Regions from separate parts of the Homo sapiens genome. Here region 1 is linked to region 2. The links are contacts of gene promoters, found by promoter capture Hi-C in human tissues and cell types (Jung and others, 2019). All regions are on one chromosome and are shown on one strand. Each heading gives the region's core, a stretch centred on a gene start or on the middle of the fragment in contact. The rest is flanking DNA. Distances are from core to core; before and after follow the strand shown. Region 1 has its middle 17 kb from the start of DPP4-DT. Region 2 holds the start of FAP (fibroblast activation protein alpha).

What was found. Contacts are between HindIII fragments. The study calls those that stand out against the background at their distance.
Region 1: a fragment that was not itself captured here is called in contact with the fragment with the promoter of FAP in region 2 in 1 of the 25 tissues and cell types used here (IMR-90 fibroblasts).

Annotation. Positions count from the first base shown.
Region 1 is chr2:162,088,922-162,094,594 of GRCh38, forward strand. It overlaps the pseudogene EIF3EP2. Among named protein-coding and RNA genes, the nearest start is that of DPP4-DT, 17 kb to the left of the region's middle. RefSeq lists an enhancer at 3,803-5,002. The HindIII fragment of the contact is 6,107 bases long and covers 221-5,673 here.
Region 2 is chr2:162,241,458-162,246,709 of GRCh38, forward strand. FAP (fibroblast activation protein alpha) reads right to left here and starts at 1,988. Exons shown (of 26, transcript NM_004460.5): 1 at 1,865-1,988; 2 at 1,451-1,535. The coding sequence starts at 1,870. LOC105373724 (a long non-coding RNA gene) reads left to right here and starts at 4,660. Exons shown (of 4, transcript XR_923544.3): 1 at 4,660-4,714. The HindIII fragment of the contact is 19,367 bases long and covers 1,401-5,252 here.

The DNA of each region.
Region 1 (5,673 bases), core at 2,024-4,523, 150 kb before region 2:
ATGCTCTGGAGACACACGCACTTCCAGCATGAACGTGTCAGTGACTCAGGATCAGCTGAGTATCACTGCTCTTTTAGAGTGCTGCTTCCAGCACATGATAGAAATACCGAGTTCATTCTGGGAAAGCTCATCTCTGAAATCTTTTTTTTTTTTTTTTTTTTTGAGACGGAGTCTCACTCTGTTGCCTAGGCTGGAGTGCAGTGGTGTGATCTTGGCTGACTGCAATCTCCACCTCTCAGGTTCAAGTGATTCTTTGCCTCAGCTTCCCGAGTAGCTGGGATTACAGGCATCTGCCACCACACCCAGCTAGTTTTTGTATATTTAGTACAGATAGGGTTTCACCATGTTGACCAGGCTGGTCTCGAATTCTTGACCTTAAGTGATCTGCCTGCCCTGGCCTCCCAAAGTGCTGGGATTACAGGCATGAGCCACCATACCCAGTCTCATCTCTGAAATCTTAATGCTGAGAGACTGAATATGCAAACAGTCAGTGACCAGACTGTACCTGACAATTGGACTCTGCCCCACAACCTCTGCTGCAATCAGCCCAGAATAGTCAGGATTGTAAACTTTGCTTCTAACTCAGGACCAGAAAAAGATTTCTATCCTCCCCACACCAATCTCGTCAGATGTCCTGCTTTTAATTAGCCTACCTCCTGTTTCTTATGCCAACAGGCTTTGATCAGAGCACACCTGAAGCCTTTCCTGTTTTCTCTATAAATCTTTCCCCCTGCCCTTCCTGCCTTCGAATCTCTGCTAAGTGATGGTGACTGACTCCCTTGCTACAGTAAACCTTGAAAAAATAATCCTGTTTGTTCTCATTTGGGTGGTTTTCATTTATTTCCACAATGCGAAATGGGGATGCAGCCATGGACGATCTTACACATTTAAGACACCATTGATAATAATTGTTCCACTCCGGTGTTTTGGCAACAAACATGTCTCATTCATCGGTCTCTGTTGTTTTCAACCACCCCTACAGCTGTGTTACCATTATTTATCTCACCTTTTTCAGCCACACTATTTTAATAATTCAGATGATGTGTCTCTGCTATTTGACTACAGTAGCCATAATAGTCAAAGATGCTCGGAAATGCAGGAAGATGGTAAAAGACCTAGCCAATGTCTTTCAAAAGAAATCCTACACATAAAAACCCTGTTACTGAGCTGGTTGAAAGCTTTTACTTTGATGGGGACCAGAAAAAACACCCATGCTCCAATGTCTACTTTTTGAGGATTTCATTAGAAATATTTGTATATTTATATTTAAGACTCTCTGATATATCCACCGGAGTATTAGCATTAGTATGTTGGCAGATACACTAAAAGTGATCTCAGGAGAAGCTGAAGGATGACTCATACTTATTGAGAAGTTACTAAACCAGGAAATGTCCTGGGAATATCAATTTGAACAAATAAGGAACATCTCCAGGATTACAGTTTACAAACCAGTTTACAGTTGTTAATCCACCTGAGCTTTCTAGCCAAACAACACAAGACTAAGTCTGAGATAATTAGGCTTTACTGCCCCCAACCCCAACCCCATGTAAGCATTTTCCAGAGGAAGCTGAGGGAGGAGATTAGAATTCCTGGAGGCTAATCCACTGGGCTATGGATCTGATGTTCAGAGTGTAGTGGTCCTCCTGGCTCCATGCTGTAAGTGCCCTGTTTCCCTCCTAGGCCTTGTCACCTCTTTTTCAATGTCTCTTCTATGCCAAGAATCCCCTTCTGTAGTATTTCCTTCCAAACAGTCCCCCTCCAAAGGCCCAACCTCTTCCTCCCTTTCTCTGCTATCAAATTTCATCTATTCTAACCTATTTCATTTTTTTAAGATTCCATATATAAGTGACAGCATGCAATATATAGAGATAGAGACTAAAACAGTGGTGACCAGGTTTGGGGATGGGGAGAAAATAGGGAGATGCAGGTCAAAGGACATAAAGTAGCAAATGTAGGGTGAACAAGTTGAAAGATTTAATATACAACCTGAGGCCGCTAGTTAATACTGGTGTATTGCATTCAGGATTTTTGCTGAAGGATTAAATATAGCTGCTTTTGCCATGATGGGGACTGGTAACTATGTAAGATGAAAGGATATGTTAATTTGTTCTGCTAGAGTAACCATTTCACTATATGTATGTATCTCATAATATATTGTATACCTTTTATATACATAAAATTTATTAAGAAAGAAAACCTTCGTCTATTCTGATATACAGACTTGATGGAGGTTGATAGGATTGACATATGCATTTTATCAGGACTTTTGAGGCTGAGAAGCCCTTCCCGATTCTCAAAAGTTTTCCCAAACGTGTGCCCTGCTCCCATCTCCTTCACTGCCTTGAGCATATTTTATTAAAACAATCTGTTAAGCTTCTGTCTCTCTGACCTCGCTTTGAGTGTGGCAGCCATGCTCTATTGTTTGTATTTCTAGAAACTACACCAGCTCTGGGATAGAGTAAACTCAGCCATGTGCCAAAGCTGGCAACATGGAGACAGCTGCTTCTTGCAGCCATTCACCAGGCCACCTGCAAGGCCGTAGGGAGAAGACAAAGGAGCGAAGACTTTACGGTTAGACAAGCCTGGGTCTGCAATCCAATTATATGCCCTTGGCTGTTTTTTAAAAACCTTTATTATGTGCCCTTGGCTGTTTTTTAAAAACCTTCTTCCCAGAGTTGCAGAGATTTAATGAGATAAGAACTGAGTCATCTCAGTTACTCCCAAGCCTTCAAATGTATCTCTATGCTGATGGTTTCTGCTTGTATTTCTCTAGCTGGGATCTCTCTTCTGGAGTCTGAGCCTCCGGAAGGTCCCCACCTGGATGACTCATAGGCCTATTAAATCTAAATTAGCCAGAGAGGGTTAATAATTACCAACACTACTCCCCTACCCACTAGTCACCAAATTAGGTCCTTCTGCATCATGCTCTCCCTCCATGAGAGTATCGCCACCACATGGCCCAAGCCGGAAACCCAGGAGTCCTCCTTGATACCTGCTCACTCCTTATCCCACACACAGACCTCTCTAATCTCCCGTTTCATTGTCCACATCTCTCTATGGTCTCTCTTCCACCTTTGCTCAGGCCTTCCTTTCTTCCAGACCAGGTCATCGCCCAGCCCATCTAACTGGCCTCTCCTTTTGTCATTTCTTTCCATGGCAGCGTTTATTACTTTCCTGCTTAAAACTAGTGGCTTCCCCTGCTGCAGGATCAAATCCAAATCCCTTATCCTGTTCTGGTCTCTGCTTAGCCTTCCTTCTCATGGCTCCTCCCCAACATCCCGCCACCTACACACTAAGCTACATGCATTCATTTCTAAGAATTGAAATGCAATCTCTGTTTTGCTCTCTCTTTTGCTTTTGAAACTTCAAACATAACGTTTCCTCCACCTGGAGTTCATTCCCTTTGTTTTTCATTTGGCTAAGGTCCTAGTCAATGATCGCAACTCCAGTGCCATCTCATCCAAGAAGCTTTGCCCACCCACTGCCCTAGCAAGGTGCATGGCTTCTGTGCTCTCAAACAGACTTGTGCCTCACTGCTTTTTAACAAAGCACTCATCACTCTGTAATGCAATTATCTAATGTAATAATTGCTAAGATTCATGGACCCCGTGCTAGGTGCTGGACATTCAGGTAAGCTCTTTACTTGTAATAGTTCATTTAGTCCTCATAACAGCCCCATGCAGTAGGTACCTTTATCATCCCTGCTTTGTAGATGAGGAAATTGAGGTGCAGAGGGGTACATACTCTTCTCAGTATTACACAGCAAGTATTTGAACCCATGAGGCCTGACTCCAGAGCCCTATAATTATCTACTATTATCCAGTAATATTCAAGGATTTTGTCTCTGTTGTTCACTGATATACTCCTAGGGCCTACACTAATATCTGGCACAATAATAATTGCTTATTAAGTGTTTACTGACTCACTGAGTGAATAAATGCTGATTCATTGTGTCATTTCCTTCCTGATGGGCAGGGATTAGGCTTTATTCCATTTATTTCTAGCAGCTAGCTTGGACCCTGGACATATGAAAATTGTTAAGTTTGTTTCTCTGCATAGGGTCTTTGCTACTCTGTGAGATCCATGATTCTGTTTTGCCTTTGTGGTCTTCTGAGACCCTGTATTCACCCTGCCACACCACAGCACACTTCGCTGCGTGTCAATTTTTAGTGCATAGAAAAAAATCTGGTCAGCTGCTGCTTGACAGCTGGAAAAATAGAGCTGTACCTGAGCCAGTTTTGTACCTCAGAAAAGCAAGGGGGAGAGTCTCCTGCCTCACGCGGTGTGTGGGTGGAGGGCTGAATCATCAAGTTCTTTGAGTTCCTTGGGAAAAGATAACTCAAAGGAATATTACACAACATGGAGAAATAGGAGGAAAATAAGCAGAGACACAAAAATGACTCAAGTGTTGAAAAATATGATCCACGCAACTAAAAATACATTGCAACTGAGTTTGAAGAGGAAAAGACTGGGTGTCAACATTCCAGTGGCCCAAATGGCTGTGCATGAATGGGCTTTGGTTCGAAGGATGGTGAGCAGATGGTCACCGGCCTCACAGAGAAGAAGGTTGTGCAACAGGGCCTGGAGGCCCTCTGAAGATCTGAGACAAGGGGAAGAGGACAACTTTACCAGGGACAAGACAGCCTGAGCTTCAGCAAAACACTATAAAAGAGTATCCTTGGTTCCATATGACCCAGGCAGAGGGAGGAGTGATGGTAAATCCTGTCGGATTGGTGTATTATGCATTTTTCTTTTCTAAATGAGCACTTAAAATTCCCTGTAGATTAAAAAATTCTGTTGTAGATTTTTTCTAGAAACTGAAAACTTTGGGTGGGAAGGGTGGTTCAGGCTTTCATGGACATGCAAACAATTTTCATGTTCCATTCTCTGGCTTCTCTGGTAACTGACATTTGAGAGACATGTTGGTGTAGTAGATGGAACATGGACTTGAGGCCCCTACTGTTCTGTAACCTAGGGAAAGTTGCTGCTTCAGACTCTGCCTCAGTGTCTTTTTTGAGCAACACTTTGCAAATAACATTGTAAATACTAAAGAGGTATAGAGAATATCTAAAACACTAGTTCAAGGGCACATGATATGCTTAATGAGTGAGAATGAAGTTGTCATTAATATAATTCTTTACCAGCTTTATTTTCTTAATTTCTGAAGTATTGCCCTATCATAAAAAGATTAAAGTAGATCCCAAAATCAGAAGAGTTCTTGATTAGAATGAAGGACCCGAATTGGTTTTCCAGATGGACTCACTTGTTAAAAGGGGATTGTGACAAGTATTTATTCAACAGTTTGTTCTACAGCCGGTGTTTGGGCTATTGGAAAGGAGGTGCTATATAAGTGTATTGTAATAATGAATGCCCTTAGGGAAGAGGGGAATTGTGTAAGGAGATGTATTCTGTAATTCTTTCACGTATATTCATCTTTTCTGTCCAAGTAGAATATACACCCTTTATGGGCAAGGACTACCTCGTCTAATTTGTATTTATAAACTTTCTTTTTTCTTTCTCAGGGTTTTCAAGGACTGAGAATGCACATATGGATAGAACAAATCTAGAAATTCAAGCTACTTCTATTGCTAAACAAGTATAGAGTTTCATATAAATATAATTCATAAAAGGTATAAACGGCAAGAGTTTCTACCCAAAGATTTTGTGAAACAC
Region 2 (5,252 bases), core at 738-3,237:
TAGCTTGAATTCCATAGTGAAATTCATCCTTCCCTATGGACATGGAGGCAAGTGCCCTATAAAATTAACAAACTTTTGTTCCAAGAACATTTATTTCTGAGGGTGCAGAGTATCAATTTCAAGGTTGAGTTTCTTTAAAAATCAGGAGCTAATTTTTAATGAATTAACATTCAAAGGATCTATATGACCTAATCCACTACCTGACAATTGCTGGTATGAGGGAAATGTGGCCCCAAGACCACTGAGTTCAGAGATGAGTCTGAAAACAATTTTAACATGAAAATTTATGAAAGATATGTACACACACTACATACCTCTCAACAGCCTAAGAAGAATCTTGTGCTGGCAGAGAGCAGAAACAAAGACTGAAATTAACACTGAAGATATCAGCTGACTTCATCTTATGGGTTAACCTATTCTATTTTGTAATTCTGTGAAAATCTCATGATTATTTTTAATTTTCGAAAACATTTTTCTATGTTCTTTTTAATAGCAACAGTCCAGTCATTCAGGACTCATACATTCTTTAGCTGAAGTTATTTTATTGATCTTCATTTACTATCAGTTAACTTTTAACCAAGATATTTCCCACATTTGTTATCATAAACTTTTAGTATTTATTAGTACAAATTTTTCCCCTTTCCTAGACACAAAGACATAAGACCTGTTATTACTGGATTTTTTTTCCATTTCAGAAGCTTGAGTTTCTCTTCATAAATATTTTCATAAAAAGCTATTTCCCTAATATCACTAGATTATCTATCAACATAGTCCTACTTTATATTTAAACTAGCTCTGATATCAGCCCATAGTACCTTCCAATTTTTAGCAAAGTGAGATCAGTGTCAATCTAAGCCTTTTTTGTAAAAGGATCCAATTTATGACTGATCAAAATGCTTGCTTAACAATGTTTGGTTTTCTAATTTGATGTGCAGTGCTACTACATCTAAAACAACAACTTTGCTTTTTCTATACAGCTATTCCTGAGATCTGTATTCTCAACTTCCTCCCTAAATTTTTGGAAAGACTATTTAGTAATAAAAAAAGTCCATAGATTCTGTTTTAACTTTTCCATTCTTACTCATTTTTACTTTCCACGAGACAAACCTAATAATGAAAAGCAATGTTAGTTAAAAATGTTGTTTCTAAAGGCCTGTCAAAGCTTGTATTTAGCATATATTTTTGGGGGTTGTGGGGGTGATGCAGCATAGTTCTTAGGTTTTTCTATTGCTGAAATAACACTGTAAATCTCTTCCTACCCATGCCTTAAATTCCTCAGTATTTCTGGTCTTGCACAACAACATATCTGTGAGCTTATATGTCTTCTTAGAAATAACAGACTTACTTTGGAACATAAGCACTTAGGAAATGTTCAACCACTTGTGATCTTGCATTAGTACATTTTCCAAGCTATTCTAGGCAGATAGAGCAAATCAGAGAAAGTTCTTACCTCTTGAAGGGCGTAAGACAATGCACATCACCAATAAGGCAAGCACAGCAGAGGTGGCAACTCCAAATACGATTTTTACCCAAGTCTACATAAAATAAAGAGAATTAGGCATACACACAGTTCCTGCTAAATAGTAGAAATGGCAAGATTTTGTTTACACCTAAATCCTTTTTCTCTCGCCCCACAAAGCTTTTGATTGTTTTCCACTGATCCGGCTATAATTGCTGGAATTCTTCCAGCTCTGCAAGGACAAATGTTTCTACAGTATATTTAGAACAATTTTCCAATCCCAACCCATTGAGGAAGTAAATACTTATGTACAAATCTTCACCTTCTAAACAATAGAAAACTCTGATCACGTTCAATCCAGCCAACCCTAATTTTTTAAGAATACTTGAGGTTGCTTATACTAACCTTCATTTTTCCAGATGTTTTTGAAAGTTAGCTAATTCTGTCTTCAGAGCGTGGGTCACTGGATCTGTGAAAACCGTTGAAAAGGACCAAGTCTGTCTTTGTAGTTGGAAGCTGAAGCCAGGACAAGGTTTTTTTCTTTCCACGGACTTTTGAATACCGTGCCAAGTTTCAAAAGATTTCTGTAAAATTAGAAACAGATTTTGGGGGCGTTCTTGGCCCTCAAATGAACTGTGAGTGACTCAAGGGAAGTTTTATAGCCTTCTCATCCTTGTAACTACACCAACATCTGCTTACGTTGACATACAGAGGTTTTTATTTTTTCTTTTTTACCAGTTCAGGTTTATGTTGCATTTTCTTCTAGAATTCACTGAAGGATCACTTTAGCAAGTCATTGGGTTTTGCATAACATTTTTATTTGCCACTAAAAGATGAATTTAAAATAATGAAACTTGCAGGTCTGTACATTAAACATATATCTACTTTTTAACAGAGGAAGAACATTGAAGCCACATAAGATTTTGTGAGAAATGTGCCATATAACTGCACTTTTTTTTCCTCTGGAAGATTATGAGGTATTGCAGACAGAAATGTTTTTCTTTCAGCACAATTTCTTTGTCCATATAGCACCATATGCACTTTCAGTAAATACAGAAGTTTAAAAATTCAACTGTCTAAACCCACGGCTGCTTTACTTTAAAGAAATAAAATGCCATCTGGTGAAATTTAGTATGGGTTAGGTGTGTATGCACAGGCTAGAAAGATGGAAAGATCAGTAAGAATAATTTACCAGCAGACCTTTGGAAGAATGGAAATGGCTTTACAAGAGTGGTATTTTTGCTTTCCTCTCAGAATATCTTCTGAGAGAGGAGAACATCTAGTAATTATAAAGATTTAAAAATAAATAAAAAAGCATCTGAAAAGAAAAGTAAATCTTATGTATAATTTCATTTTGGCTAAATCTACATAATTCCAAAGAAATTGGTCATCTTGACAGATTAGTAAAATGGTTGACTGAATTAAAAAAAATACACATACAACAGTTTCTTGGAGTGTTCTGTCTGTTTTAATGCAATTCACTTGGATAGATTTTGTGGTTCCACGTAAACACAGTTGTTAAATCTACTGTGTCCTTAATTTTTCCACTAATGGTTTTCTTTTTTCGAAGTTTATAATGTTCCCAACCTGATTAAAACACTTCATGGCAACCTTTCTTGGATTGTACATGAAAGGTAATGGGGAAATGTTACCAAAACATGTTGCTGTTTGCCTTAGTCAACTTCTCTGGCTACCACGGGACACTTTCTCCAGCAAAGAGCAGGACAGTGGCTTGTGAACTTCCTTTCAGACATTCTCCAGACATCCCTCCCTGAATTCCAGCCTTATGAAAATTCTGTTGAGGAAAATGAGTCATTAGGCACTTACTGGCAGAGAACTGTATTCCTGGTGGCTGGGGCTGGGCCCTCTCCTTTGCTGTTGGTGGAGTCACCTCTTTACAAAATGAAGTAATCATTAAGAGTAATATCCAAGGTGTGCTATACACTTGTAGGTATCTCCAAGTGATTGTGAAATCCTCAGATCTCAGATAAAAGCCAGCAGCCAGGTCCTGAATGAACTGTTTCTGTGTAAGTCCTCTCAGATTGATTGTCTTCTCTGGAACACACCGTGTTCTCAGAAGTTCTGCCCTAGCCTGCCAAAGCCCCAGAGTACACAGGCACTTTTTAGTGGGTGATTTCCAAGACTTTACATTGTAGAGAGAAACTATAATAAATTATTAGGGTGTAATTAAAAGACCATGCTGAGAGCATGTTAGCTCTAGCAATTAAGAATGCACTGACATGTGACTGGTCTGAGCACCACTTAGGATTCTATGACTGTGTGTGGGTGTCCACAAGATACTCATTTAATAGGCTCTATGAAGAGGTTGGAGTGCTTTAAGATACACTTAAGTTGCCACTATTAGTAAGGGTGGGAAATGATGAGAGTGAAACAATGTCTGTTTAAGTTTTTTTGTTTTTTCCTTGGAAGGTTGGGTGAGTCAAGCTGTAACTTCTGGAAAATTCTTACTAGTTTGAACTGTTTTAAGAAAAATGAGACTGACTGCAGAAATAAAGATGTCGAGTTTTTCCATCTGAATTCATGGTTTAGGGAGGTATTGTTTTTATAAAGTCACACATGTTCATTCGTTTGAGATAATGTGAATGTATTCTAATTTTCATCCAGACAAGAACTCTCATAAAATTTGGATTTTTAAAATATTGTAATATCTTTATTAGCTTTTTTTAATTTTGGAATCAAAATGAAAATACTTTTGTCAACTTTTAAAAAACATTTACGAAACTGACTCTTATTCCTACTTTATACAATTAGTTAACACCCCATCAACATTTTTGTTGAGAAAACAAAAATGAATCAGACACAGTCTGTGCCCTTAAGGAACTTACATTCTAGTATAAGTATGGCAGGTATGTTCTTAATGTTCTTACATACTTGTTTCCTTTTGCTTCCTAAAGCTCTTGTTCAGAAATAGCCTGAAGCTGAGTTTGTGTTCTGTAGAAAGAGTGTTCTCACTGGTTGGTGATTTCTTCATGGACCTGGGAAGAGGACTGGAAAGGGCACATACCACATGCATGTCATCCTTAGTTCAACCTTTGTTAGTTCTAACCTTTGTTAGTACTGAGACTTTTCTCAGAAAGCAACTCTGGGTCTATTAAAATGCTGCAAAACCAGAAAGGATGATGATTTGTCATGTAAAAATGTAAGGGCAGCAATTAGGAGAGTAGAGGCTCATCAACTGAGTTCTTTCCAGAGAGGGACCTTGTAAGGCTGACTTTGGAATATGACTGCATTCTGGTAAGCCCACTGGATAAGTGAGCTATAACATAAATCCTTAGGTTATAAGGAGGAGAGCTTACTAGAACTATTTATTAGTAGCCAATGTTTACCTGCCAAAAATGATTTTAATTTATATGTTTTCCCAGAAAACACATCCAGCTATGTATTTCTAGAGTCTGAAGGTAAGACCATGCTGAGAGCATAAGGATGTTATCTTTTTATTTTATGGTGGGGAGATGAAAGAGAGATGTGTTTATTAACCAAAAGCCATGACAAATTATTTAAGGACAAGTTACAAGGGGAATAAGGATACAAGTGCAGTAAACATAAGCCTGATTTTATACTCTTTAAAGTAAAAATTTGCTTCTAGAGAGCCTAACAGCTCCTAACATCCTACCCATTTGATTCCTCAGATTCAATAAACATTTATTGTTTACTGTTATCTACAAAGTGATTTTAATGCATTATTTCATCTGATCCATACCAAAACTCATTTTGATGATTAGGAAACAGCCTAGAAAAACTGGATAACTTGCCCAAGATTTTAACAGGACCC